Linked DNA regions of Homo sapiens: region 2 is linked to region 1. The links are contacts of gene promoters, found by promoter capture Hi-C in human tissues and cell types (Jung and others, 2019). All regions are on one chromosome and are shown on one strand. Each heading gives the region's core, a stretch centred on a gene start or on the middle of the fragment in contact. The rest is flanking DNA. Distances are from core to core; before and after follow the strand shown.

The links. Contacts are between HindIII fragments. The study calls those that stand out against the background at their distance.
Region 2: a fragment that was not itself captured here is called in contact with the fragment with the promoter of DNAH9 in region 1 in 1 of the 25 tissues and cell types used here (heart left ventricle).

What each region holds. Positions count from the first base shown.
Region 1 is chr17:11,595,528-11,602,112 of GRCh38, forward strand. It overlaps DNAH9 (dynein axonemal heavy chain 9), which reads left to right and starts at 2,943. Exons shown (of 69, transcript NM_001372.4): 1 at 2,943-3,388. The coding sequence starts at 2,972. The HindIII fragment of the contact is 9,113 bases long and covers 1-4,265 here.
Region 2 is chr17:11,531,229-11,537,813 of GRCh38, forward strand. The region is part of intron 3 of SHISA6 (shisa family member 6); the gene reads left to right. Among named protein-coding and RNA genes, the nearest start is that of DNAH9, 64 kb to the right of the region's middle. The HindIII fragment of the contact is 4,604 bases long and covers 1,435-6,038 here.

The DNA.
Region 1 (6,585 bases), core at 1,693-4,192:
CTTTCATATTACTTGCTTGTGGGAACAAATTTCTCATCACGAGCGACTATCCAGAATTTAAAGAGATCATGACCAAAAGTCTCAAACAGGAATTGTGCATAGTCATTTAAAACAAAAAATATGATTACTACAAATATTACGCTCATGGGACTGAGTTCAAGTTTCCAATTTAAAAAATGGAAATTATTTTAGCTGAACATCTTATGCAAATTCATTCTTTCCCTTACTTTTTGTGGTAGCCTGCCTCCAAGATGGTACCCAGTGATTCTTGTCTCCTGGTATTCACATCCTCATGTAATTCCCTCTCATATTGAATAGGGAAGACTTCTGTAACTAATAAGATAATTGCAGAAATGACAGTGTGTGATTTCCAAGGCTAGTCATAAGAGACACTGTAGGCTTCTGCCTTGCTCTCTCTTAGATCACTTCTTCCGGGGGAAGACAGTCACAGCATTACAAAGACACTCAGATACCCAATGGGGGCTCCACATGCTAAGAAGTTGAAGTCTACTGCCAAGAGCCAGCACTAACCAACTAGCCATGTGAGTAAGCCATCTTGGAAGTGTCTCCTCCAGCCCCAGTCAAGCCTTCAGATGATGTAGCCCCTGATGACATCTTGCCTGCAACATCATGAGAAACCTTGTGCAATAACTACGAGCTAAGCAGCTCCTAAATTCCTGACCCCCCCATAAACTGTGTGAGATAAATGTCTATTGCTATTTTAAGCTGATAAGTTTGGGGGTAATTTGTTATACAGTGATAGATAACTAATATATTTTGGGGATATTTTTGTCATAATTATACAATATTTTAAAATGTCAGTTGTTTTCAATAATCCCATATCAATGCCTCCCACCAATCACCTTCTAAAATGCAGATAAGGTATCTTTTTGGAGAGAAAATTAAAAACTGGGATTGCTAATATTCAGGAGCCTTCACCTTACACAGAAATCTTTAAGTCATATTCACAGACTCCTTTGTTCCTATTTTTATGTATGTTGGGGCAAGGGGACATAGGAGATTAACGGCATAATAGAGCCACAGTGCGGTGGCAGAAATTTTATTTCAAGGGTTTACTGAAAGTTAATGGTCCTGAAGTCACTCTGTATACGAAACATGAGCATAGTTGACACATTTGAAGTCCCTAAGCACTAAAACAATAACGATGCCTTCCTATGTGCAAAGATAAACAAAAAACGATATGTGTAAGAAGCCCCTGACATTACTATTTTTCCCTGATGCTTCTTCTTGAAATGTCAGTTACCAAATTCATCCTAAAGATTGTTTTAGTTTCCCACTTTTTCCCTTTCCTCATAGTTGGTTGATTATTGTTTAATCCAGCAATGATGAAACACCCTTTACAAACATAAAGATTCATTTCTAACATGAACATTTTTTATTACAGCAACTCCTTTGCTCCAGTTATTATGAAATCAATCATTTTACTTCCCAACCACTGGTGTTTTCCCGAGGGGCTCTTGTTAGCCAAGCTACCATTGATAAGTGCTTATTCTGTTAATATTCCTTTGAAACCCATTATAAACATTCCTTTTACCCAGAAACTCAGCAGTCCCTGGGAGGTGACTAAAGGGAGGATGGCAGGGCAGAGGGGAGCTCATTCAGTCCTGCAGACCTCATGCTGCCCAAGTTGTTTGTCCATTTTTTCAGCACCCATGCACTGTCACCTTACATGCATGCAAAGGGCCAAGCTGTTTATCCTGACCATGGAGAAGGACTAAGCAGGTAACAAATGCTAATTTCTGAGGTCAGGCAAGGCACTTTATATTATCCCTTTTTGAAGCCAATATCCAGGTATAGGGCAGGATGGGAAGGTTCTGAGCATCCTGCATATTTACAAGTACTTTGCTACATTTAGTAAGAACTGATTAGTGGTCATACCCATGGAAGTCAAAAACTCTAGCATGGTGGCTCATCCTTATAATCCCAGCACTTTGGGAGGCTGAGGCAGAAGGATCAGTTGAGTCCAGGACTTCAAGACCAGTTTGGACAACACAGCGAGACCTCATCTCTACAAAAAATTTTTAAAATTAGCTGGATGTGGTGGCGCCTGTATTCCCAGCTCCTAGGGAATCTGAGACCAGAGGATCAGTTGAGCCCAGGGATTTGAGGCTGCGGTGAACTATGATCCGGCCACTGCACTCCAGTCTGGGCAACAGAGTAAGACTCTGTCTCAAAAACAAGCCTCTTACAGTTTGGTTACATTTTTAGAAGATTAAGCACATGCCTTAAAAAACATGGGCAAAGAAAGGCACGGAAGAAAACTTAAAAAAACTTGATATTAAAATTTTGAAGCTGAGCTGTTCGATATAACTACAGTCACATGTGACTATTTAATTTTAAGTGAAAATTAAGTAAAATTAAAAATTTCCTCAGTGGGACGAGCATATTTCACCTCCTTTATAGGCCATGCGTGGCTAGAACAGATGGAAAACATTTCCATCATCGCAGAAAGTTCTACTGGACAGCACTGTTCTGAAGTGTTTAATTTGCCATCATGGAAAAGAAATAAAATTCACTGAATGTCCTTAAATCTGTTTTATGATTTGGCATTGTGTTTAAGTCTGGATTGCACATTTAGGATAGAGGTAAGAGGACCACACTATTTTCAGTGTCTGGAGACCTCTAAAGACTCTAATTCGACCTTGGCCAAAACGATCCTTAACAGCATTTATATGCTTGATCTCCTCTCCACGCAGCCCATCAATAAGCCATTGCGCTCCACGGTCACACTTCAGCACTCCCAATACACCAGGCAGACACTGAGTACGAGTCTCGGCTGGTGTCCTAGCAACAGCGACGCGACCCCGCCCCTTCCCGCGTACACCTCCTACCTTATTAGCCTGGAAGGGGCGGGACCAGGGGTCCGTGCCCAATAGGAAGGGAGCAGAGGAGTGAGTCCTGGCCGCGTCCCCGTCGCTAGGGAAACCGATGCAGCTGGAGGCCGCGCGCGATGCGGCTCGCGGAGGAGCGGGCCGCGCTCGCGGCGGAGAACGCGGATGGGGAACCCGGCGCCGACCGACGACTGCGACTCCTGGGGACCTACGTGGCCATGAGCCTGCGGCCGGCTGCGGGCGCCTGGGAGCGTTGCGCGGGGAGTGCTGAGGCGGAGCAGCTGCTCCAGGCCTTCCTGGGCCGCGATGCTGCCGAGGGGCCGCGGCCGCTGCTGGTGGTGCGGCCCGGGCCCAGGGGCCTGGCAATACGCCCCGGGCTGGAGGTGGGACCTGAGTCGGGCCTGGCTGGCGCTAAGGCGCTTTTTTTCCTTCGCACCGGGCCCGAGCCTCCAGGGCCCGACAGCTTCCGCGGCGCAGTGGTCTGCGGGGACCTGCCCGCGGCACCTCTGGAGCACCTAGCCGCGCTGTTCTCGGAGGTGAGGGTGGGTTAGTGTCCCCGCGCGGCTAAAGCTGGGTGGGGGAGGGGAGGAGGAGCCTTAAGGGACGGAGGCGGGGCCAGAGGGGGCGGGGCGAAGCTGCAGGGGAGGTCCAAGAGGCGGAGTGATAGGCAGAGGGGCGAGGCTGTGGAGGGAGCACAACCAGGAGGGAAGTTCCTGAAGTCAGGAAGAAAATGGGATGGGGTTAGGGGCGGAGTCGGGTGGGTCCGGAGGGAGGGATCTGGGTGGAGGCCAGGCCAGAATGAGAATGGGAAGGAGCTGAGGCTTGGGTCAGTCCGGGTCTGGGTTCCAGCCAAAGTCAGGGGAAGACCATAATCTGAAGAGTGCCTAGGTTCTGACTACTTTCAAAATCAGCCTCTCGTAATCCCTCCTGTAAATTGGAAAGATCTGAAGAAGATGGGAAGTGGACAAGACGGCATTTCTGATGGATCAGTGGGGTGGAAGGAGGTGGATGGCTATAAACAGTGCCTACTTCTGGAGAGCAGTTAAATGGGAGGGGGAGGTGGGTAGTGATTTGCTTTTGATTTTCATCTCATTCATTCATTACCAACCATTTAGCAAAGGTCAGCCCTGTGCCAGCATAAGAAGTTGGGCTCCCATTTGGAAATGCCCAGCAGGCCTTTGGAGGAGTCTGCCTGAAGCTCAGGGAGGAAGGTGGAGATGTGGGTCATGAGTGCTTTAGTGGCACCACAGCAGAAGCTTCGAGAATGCAGGAGATTTCAGGGAAGTGCTCCAGAGAGATTCCTGGGCCCCTTAGACCTTTCTGGAATGGGAGTAAACTGCCCTGCAAGTCAGGCTGTGTGCTTATGGAGGCTTGATGCCCTGGACCCTGCAGGTTGTGAAATAAGGATGGGCAGAATACTGGCTGTATGATGGTTCAGGTGATAGGTGCTATAGGGAATACCAAAGAACTATTCCCACCCATGAAATGCTTACTCCAAGGAGCTGAAACGTATGTAATAATTCATATATTCAAAATGTTTCAAACTTTTAAGACTGGGGTGAGGGTAAAGCTTACCTAAAAGTTGGCCCCACTGCTGGATGCAAGTCCTGGAGTCTCCCTGCTATGTCAAGTGTAAGCCCTTTAGATGGTGTATCAGGAGGCTGTGGGGAGGTGAAAATTCCAGGGAAAGGGTTGGATAGATAGAGGAGGACACAGAGGGCCCAGGAAGCTAGATCTCTTAGATATGGAGGTATTTCAATATTTTAACAAACAGAATGGTCTTGCAACTGTGCATTGTCTGAAAGCCATCCCGCTGAAGCCTGAACTTAGATCAGCTTCTCTAATGAATGTTGACGATAGAAAGTACTTTTGGCTTCAGAGGAGAAAGACAGGCCTGTGATCTGAGAAGCATGCTTAACATAAGTGTTGAATTGTCTCCTGAACAATTAGAAGAATTTGTATAAGTAGAGAGCAAGGTAACTTTCAAGATACTGAGAGCAGACTGATCAAAGGTTCAGAGACAGGATTTAACCTAGTGTATGTGGGAGACAGAAGGCCCATCTCAGAGTTGTGTCATGGCCAAGCAAAGTAGTCCAGCAAGAAAAATAATTTTAAAATAATGAAAATTCTCGAATGTTTAAGAATTTTCATTGGTGCATTGAAAGAGATTGGAGACAAACAATGTTCATCAACAGGGGACTGGGTGACTGAATTATGGGCCATCTATACAGTGAAATACTTTGCAACTATTAAAAAGAATGACTGATATGGAATATTCCTTTTTTTGAGGCAGGGTCTTGCTATGTTGACCAGGCTGGTTTCAAACTCCTAGACTCAAGTGATCCTCCTGCCTTGGCCTCCCAAAGTGCTGGGATTACAGGTGTGAGCCACCATGTCCAACCGGAGTTATTCCTTAGGGTAATTTTTTCCTTGTGGCAAAAAAAACACATGACGTAAAATTCACCCAACAATTTCCAAGTGTAGAGTACAATATTGTCAACCACATATGCATTATTGTGCAACACATCCTCAGAACTGCCCCGTCCAGCATCACTGAAACTCCACACACACCCAGCAAGCCACACATCGCTCCCCTGAGCTCCTGGCTAGCACCATTCTACTTTCTGTTCCTATGAACCTGACTCATCATATAAGTGGAATCATGCAGTATTTGTTCCTTCTGACTGACTTATGTCACTTAGCATAATGTCCTCAAGGTTCATCCATATCGTCACCGCCTATCGTCATATGCGGGATTTCTTTCTTTTTTTAACAATATTCTATTGTATGTATATACCACATTTCTAAAAAATTTATCCATCATAGACACTTAGGATGTTTCTGTCTCTTGGTTTTTGTGAATAATGCTGCAATTTAAGATAATTTTTTAAAGAAGTGCAGAATTGCATGGATGGTATGCTACTATTTATGTTTAAAAAAGAAAGGAGGGGAAGAAGAGAGAAAGGAAGGAGGGAAGGGAGGGTGGGAGGGAGAGAGGGAGGGAGGAAGAGAGGACATTCTTTAACAGTAATCCACAAGAAGGAGAAACAGTAACTGAAGTACAGGGGTAGGTGGAAGATTTACTTCCCACTGTAAAAGCTTTTGTACGTTTAAATTTTTGCCCCATGTAAATGTATTACCTATTTTAAAACCTAAATAAATAACTTATTTTAAAAATAACTCAAGTCCTTTCCTTGCATTTCTCAAAGCTTGTACCAGTAACTTTATTCCACTTTCTGTCCATCCATCTACTTTTATTCCATACCCTGAAGCTGATCCAGTGTCTCTTTCAAGGCTTGTTGGCCTCCCATCTGCTAAGACCCTCCTTCTGGCCCAGCCCTCCTGTCCACCCCCTCTCCTCTCTCTCAGCACCTTGTAATCAGCTTAATAGTCTCTGATTACCTGCTCCCCTTTTCCTTCCACCTCCCCATGCAGCATCGCTAAAGCCAGAAGAACCTACCTGGCTGAGAGACGTCTTCCTGCCTTGTGTGTGTGTGGGCGGGGCGGTTTGGGGGTAGGATTGAGGGTGTTGGCTGAGAGAAAGCTGTAATTTTAATATTATTTTTGTTCCATTCTACGAGTACAAGGTAAAAAAGGAAAATGTGCCTAAGAAATGTTTGAAAGGAAGAATTAACAGAATTTAGTAACTTGTTCTCCTACTTCCTTACTTCCTCCTCCAACCACATCATTCACTACTGCCAACTTATTTTTCCTAGCTCTGAAACTTGGATTT
Region 2 (6,585 bases), core at 2,487-4,986, 64 kb before region 1:
GTGTGTGTGTGTGTGTGTGTGTGTGTGTGTGTGTGTGTAAGTGTGTAAATGTCTTTCCCCCAAATTACTTTTTTGGGACATTTTTCTATGATGCCATTGTCCTCCCCCTGATGAGCATTTCAGTTTAAACACACGATTCTCAGAGCAGGTTAGCTACAGATGGGGGTTTTCCACAGTCTTGGAATTAGTACTGATAAACAAAGAAACAGCTCAGATACGGTTAGTGAGGGTTAGGATGGCAGCTCTTCTGTTGGTCTGTCTGGTTCATCATTACGCACAGCCAGTACCCACAGCTGTGTGACCTGGACAGGCCACTGCACCATGCCTTAGTTTTCTCACCTATAAAATGGGGCTACTACTAGTTTCTACCTCTTAGAGTTGCTATAAAGATTAAATACAGCAATATATGTAAAGAACCTAGTTGGCCCCTAAAGTTTATCGAGTCCTTCACATTTATAACATTGACAGTAATCAGTGGCTCCATGCATGGATTCAGAAGCAATGCCTTAGACGGGAGGAATAAGCTTTAGTGATCCACTGCACAGAATCGTGACTATAATTAACAGCCATGCATTGTATATTTCAAAATTGCTTAAAGATTAGATTTTAAATGTTCTCAACACACAGTATTGATGCATATATGAGGTGATGGATAGGTTAATTAGCTTGATTTAATCATTCCACAATGTACACATGTATCAAAACACTTTGTGCCAAATAAATATATCCAGTTTATTATTTGTCAAATACAAATAAAATTTGTAAAATAAAATGCCTCATGAAATCCACGCAGAGGAAATATGAAAAACTAGGAGATGTGAGAAGAAATTCAGTCAGAAGTCAGATGACAGAAGATAATGATGTAGAACAGAAAATTTCATAGGGTGGAGAGAAAATTGAAGCAGGAGAAGTTTGGAGTGACACATGTTGTCACTTGACCAGCGCCAGCCGATGGCTCTGAACTGCGGTGTAAGTGGTGCAAGAATTAGGGAAGAAATAGGCACCGGGATCTTCCCTAGGGGACAGCAGGCAGATCAAGCCACGTATACCATATTCCACTCCCAGCCAAGACATGGAGAAGGAGTGTCTGATGAGGCAGCAAAGTGTTAACAGTGGGTATCAGAAAGAGCATGTGTGAGCTCTGAGACGTTGGTGCCTGGTGCCCAGGGAGCATAGATCCTTGTTTCTTTCCCTTCCTTATCTCTCTCAGAGTGTCCAACCAAAAGGGGAGAAAGCAAAATAGGCTGTGCGCGCGCGTGTGTGTGTGTGCGCGCACGCGCGTATGTGTGTAAATGCCTTTCCCCCAGATTCCTTTTTTGGAACATTTTCCTATGATCCCACATCCTCCCCTCCAGTGAGCGTTTCAGTTTAAGCATACACAATTCTCAGATCAAGTTAGCTACAGACAGGGATTTTGCTATAGTCTTGGAATTAGAGTTCTGAATTGAATGCAGTCTAAGGCCCAAGCCTCCCAAAGCAGGAGCCCATGCCTTTCCCCATTCTATCAGGGCTTTTTTTTTTTTTTTTTTTTTTTTTCATTTCATTCCAGCTCCTGCAGGCTTCCTCATGACACATATTCCACCTCTCAGCACACAGTGATCTCCAGGGTCTCCCTGAGGATTAGCAAAGGGAGCTCCACATCCTTTCCACTGGGCATATGGTTACCTGGAAATAGGCGTGTTGGTGCAAGACACCACATCCAGTTTCCTCCCTTTCCACTCCCAGAGAACTTCTCAGGGATCTGGCAGACTGCGTGAGTGTAAACAGCCACTTTGGGTTGTGTTGCCTTTGCTGCTGAGCTGTGCCTGTTAGCTATGAAATCTGCCCAAATGCCTCAGACAAATGCTGTATCCAACAACCAGCAGGAATGAGTCCTCTGATGAAAAGAAATGGAATCAAATCTTCATTATCAGCCCTCTTTGCTTCTTCTACCTGGCCCTTTGCTCATTAGCCACAAACACCATAAGTTATGGAGACCTCAGAGCTGATTCAGCTGCCGTTACCTCCCACTTGCATTTCTATAGTAGCTTGTCAACGCATTTCCCTTCTTCACTCCAATTCTTCCTACTGGTTAATTCTTAGAAAACAAGACCCTTGCCATGCCGTCAACAGCCTTTCAGGATAAAGTCAAAGTCAATTTGGCGTTAAAGTGCCATAATCTAACCTCATTCTACCGTCTCTCATCTGCACTCCTACCAACCCTCTATGACTCAGGCCCCATTCTCTCACGTTTTATTCTTGGCCTTTCTTTCTGTGAAAGAAGTCACCTCCCCTGGCCTCTCTCCCCACCGTCCAAAATCAAGTCTCCTTTATAGCTGCATTCAAGATTTACTTTCTTTTTGAAGCTTCCCTTTCATTATTTTTTTTTTTTTTTTTTTTTTTGAGATGGAGTCTCGCTCTGTCTCCCAGCCTGGAGTGCACTGGCACCATCTCGGCTGACTGCCAGCTCTGCCTCCCGGGTTCACGCCATTCTCCTGCCTCAGCCTCCCAAGTAGCTGGGACTACAGGCACCTGCCACCATGCCTGGCTAATTTTTTGTATTTTTAGTAGAGACGGGGTTTCACTGTGTTAGCCAGGATGATCTCGATCTACTGACCTCGTGATCCACCTACCTCGCCTCCCAAAGTGCTGGGATTACAGGCGTGAGCCACCGCGCCCAGCCTCATTATTCTTACTCTATTAAAATCTTCAAAATATTTTATGTACTCTCTGCAATTACACAGACTAGTATTTATTCTAACTTTTTTTTGTTTGTTTTTGTTTTTTGAGATGGAGTTTCACTCTTGTTGCCCTGGCTGGAGTGCAATGGTGCAATCTCAGCTCACCACAACCTCCTCTCCCGGGTTCAAGCGATTCTCCTCCTGCTTCAGCTTCCCAAATAGCTGGGATTACAGGCGCCTGCCACCATGCCTTGCTAATCTTTTTTTTCTTTTTTTTTTTTTTTTTTTTGTATTTTTAGTAGAGACAGGTTTTCACCATGTTGACCAGGCTGGTCTTGAACTTCTGACTTCAAGTGATCCGCCCACCTTGGCCTCCCAAAGTGCTAGAATTATACAGGCATGAGTCACTGCGCCCGGCCTATTCTAACATTTTGAAATATTTATTGAGCAATTGAGCACCTACTATGAGCAAGTTGCACTGTGTCAGATCTGCCTTCATATCTCCCCAAGTGCCCGGCATAATGGCCATATTTATCCACTCAATGGATGCATGTTGAGTGGAAGGGCTATGTTAGACTCCTTGGGAAGCAAAAAGATGAATTTTTCATCACCTGCCATCATCAAGAAATTAGTGTGTTAGAAGACACAAGGCATGTACATATGTAATTATAACACAATGTAGAAAGTGGTAAGCACCCCCAAGAAATGACAGAGCAGAGGAGAGTTCACAGTAAAGAAAGATTACCTGCAGCTGAAGGAATTGGAGAAAGCTGCCATGGATAAGGTGTTGTTTTAGAGGGCCTTGAAGGATGAATAAAAATTGAACAAGTGGTAATGTGGGAAAAGACATTCCAGGGAGACAGAAACAAGATTCAGAAAAGTGATGACAGCATAAAAAAGGAACTCAGTGGAAAGATCAATAAGGGGTTGTGTGCTGAGACTATTCTAGGAAGGCTACGGGCCAGGAGCGGTGGCACATGGCTGTAATCCCAGCACTTTGGGAGGCCAAGGAGGGTGGATCACGAGGTCAAGAGATTGAGACCATCCTGGCCAACATGGTGAAACCCCATCTCTACTAAAAATACAAAAATTAGCCATGCGTGGTGGCAGGCACCTGTAACCCCAGCTACTCGGGAGGCTGAAGCAGGAGGATTGCTTGAACCCAGGAGGCAGAGGTTGCGGTGAGGGTGAGCCAAGAGCGCACCACTGCACTCCAGCCTGGCAACAAAGCGAGACTCCATCTCAAAAAAAATAAAATAAAATAGAAATAAAAGAAGGCTATGGTGCAGGAAAGCAGGTATAAGATGGCAGAGGACCCCTGGCATGTTCATCCATGTCCATACGGCCAGGAGTCATCACCTGGAAGCAGTGCTATGCATGGAGATTCCCAGAAAAAGAGCACTCATTGCCCAACTCCTGGTCTTGTGTGTCTAACCAACTTCCCCAGCAGTGTGGCTGGTTTCTGCCAGGCTGCATGTTCCAATAGGATGATGGCCTTTAGGTGAAGGAAAAGAAGGGCTACAATGTGAAGCTACAAGAATGCTGTCAGCAGGGAGATGCAAGGACAAAGAATAGCTACATTGCTCCGGGCTGAGTCAGAGGCAGACTCCTTAGGGGGTTTTTAGGGTGAGTGTAAGAACAGATTTCTAGATTAGAAGCAGTGTGAACCTTTGTCCAAGAATCAGCCATTTATTACCAGTGTGCAAACCTAGATCCCACTAGAAACCCTGTCCAGCTCAACAGATGAGTCTGTATTTGCACGTTCTGGCAAAACCACATTATAGTGCAGAGATCAAGAGCATCGTGTTTGGAGTTATTAGATGTGAATTTGAATTCAGGTTCAGCTACTTATTTTTTGCGTGACCTCCTTGGGCAACTCAATGTCATCTATAAAATGTAAATGAGCTCACAGACTTGTTGTGAGGTTCAATGGCATGATATTTCCAAATTACTTCAAACAATGTCCAACAAAACAACAGTAGCTGATGGGAAAACAATGTGTGTGTGTGTGTGTGTGTGGTGTGTGTGTATATATCTATATACATATGTACACATATATATACACATATAGACATATATAGATATATAGAGATATTTATATCTATATATACAGATAGATAGATAGATATATATAGAGAGAGAAAGTGAGACAGAGTCTTTTCCCAAACGTGATAAATAAAGCTCCACTGATAGGGATGGCAATATGTGTGGATTCTTGGGCCAGGCACCAGAGTCAGAATTTCTTCCAGTTGGTATTATAATGGGAAGAACAAATGTGAAAGTTAAACACAGACCTAGATCACAGAAAATTTCACTACTTAAGGGAGCTATGATAGTATGTCAGGTACACTCATAGCATTACTGGGTAGATGCAGGGATAGCTATGATAGTATGCCAGGAACACTCATAGCATTACTGGGTAGATGCAGGGGGAGCTATGATAGTATGTCAGGTACACGCATAGCATTACTGGGTAGATGCAGGTGGTGTGGTGATCTACTTTGTATTTGGGATATTTGGGGGTTTCCCAAAAGGTTGCACATTCTCAAAAGAGCAACCATTCTATCATTCCAATATTTCAACTTGAGTTGAGTTTTGTGATGTTAAGTAGCTATGTCAGGTGCCTAGATTGGAGCTTGACAGATTGTAAGATGGGGTGCCTGCCCATGGGTGGAGGTGAAAAGAATCTGAAATTTGCAAAAGAATCTCACAGCAATCCCACTTCAGAGGGAATATCATAGGCCTTATGCCTCCATAGGGAGCCCACCTGCAGGCCCGCTTGGCACTGTGTCAGCAGCCAAGCCCAGCCCACCCTTGCTCATATCCACCTCATCACACATCTGGTGCTCACACCTGATTCCACTCCCAAGCAATTCCAGGGCATTTCAAGGTTGTCTTCCCATGGGTATGATTTAAATAGCTCTCAGGATATTCCTGAGTTTTCCCTATTACCAGCAAGAGGATTAGTCACCTGGAGCTGAGCAGGGTATGGTAAATGTGTCTTTTGTAGTAATTACAATAACTTCAAGCAGAACAAACACAGCTCCAGCATCTCCAGGCTCACACGAGCCAAAGCTGTCCTGAAGACGCGGATCACAGCAGGTGGCAGGCAGCTCTCCCAAGAAGACCTAAAGTTTGTCTTTTTAAGTGAATCTGGCAGAAGACACATTGTTTCCCTGTGTGGGCATGACAACCAATGTGATGCCACTTTTTTTTCAAGCAGAATTGAAAATGAACATCCTTGCCAGAAGTAGGGAAGCAGAGCAGGCTCACTGGAGAGGAGTTCACACAGACCTGGGCTCTCAAGAAAAAGAGCACTCACTACTCAGCTCCAAGGGGACCCTGAGTCAGGGCTTCTGGGGTAAAGGGACAAGACTGAGAAATAGGGAAAGCAAGAGAGTGGACAGAAGCACAGGAATCAGTGACCTCATAATGTCATCAGCAACCAACCTGTCTTACTGGGTGGCGGCGGGGGGGATCCCACTTTCTGACACCAAGAGTCAAAGGCCTGCCTCTGTGCATTGACTTTTTCATGCCACCAAGATCTAAAGAGCTGTGTTGGAATGAATTAGAATGATAACTAATCTTCAAGCCGAAGTGCCAAGTGTGGGTTGGATTTGAGATTAGGAAGGAGGGGTGCCTTCTTTCCCCCAACACGCTCATACTCAGATATATGTGAAATGCTATGACCCACAAACCTGGCTACAGGCCCAGAATATCTGCCACTTTGGGCCTTAGGAAGAAGAGAAGAAGAAGAAGGAAGCTCAGATAAGCAATCCAGTATTATCACCATGGCCTCTTGTTCATTTTCTGCTACCTCAAGAGTTGATTCATTTACTTATTTATTAATCATTCAAAAAACTGCACAAGTACCTCCAAGGAGCCTAAGAAATATTGTGCTACGGTAAACACAAAAGCACTGTCA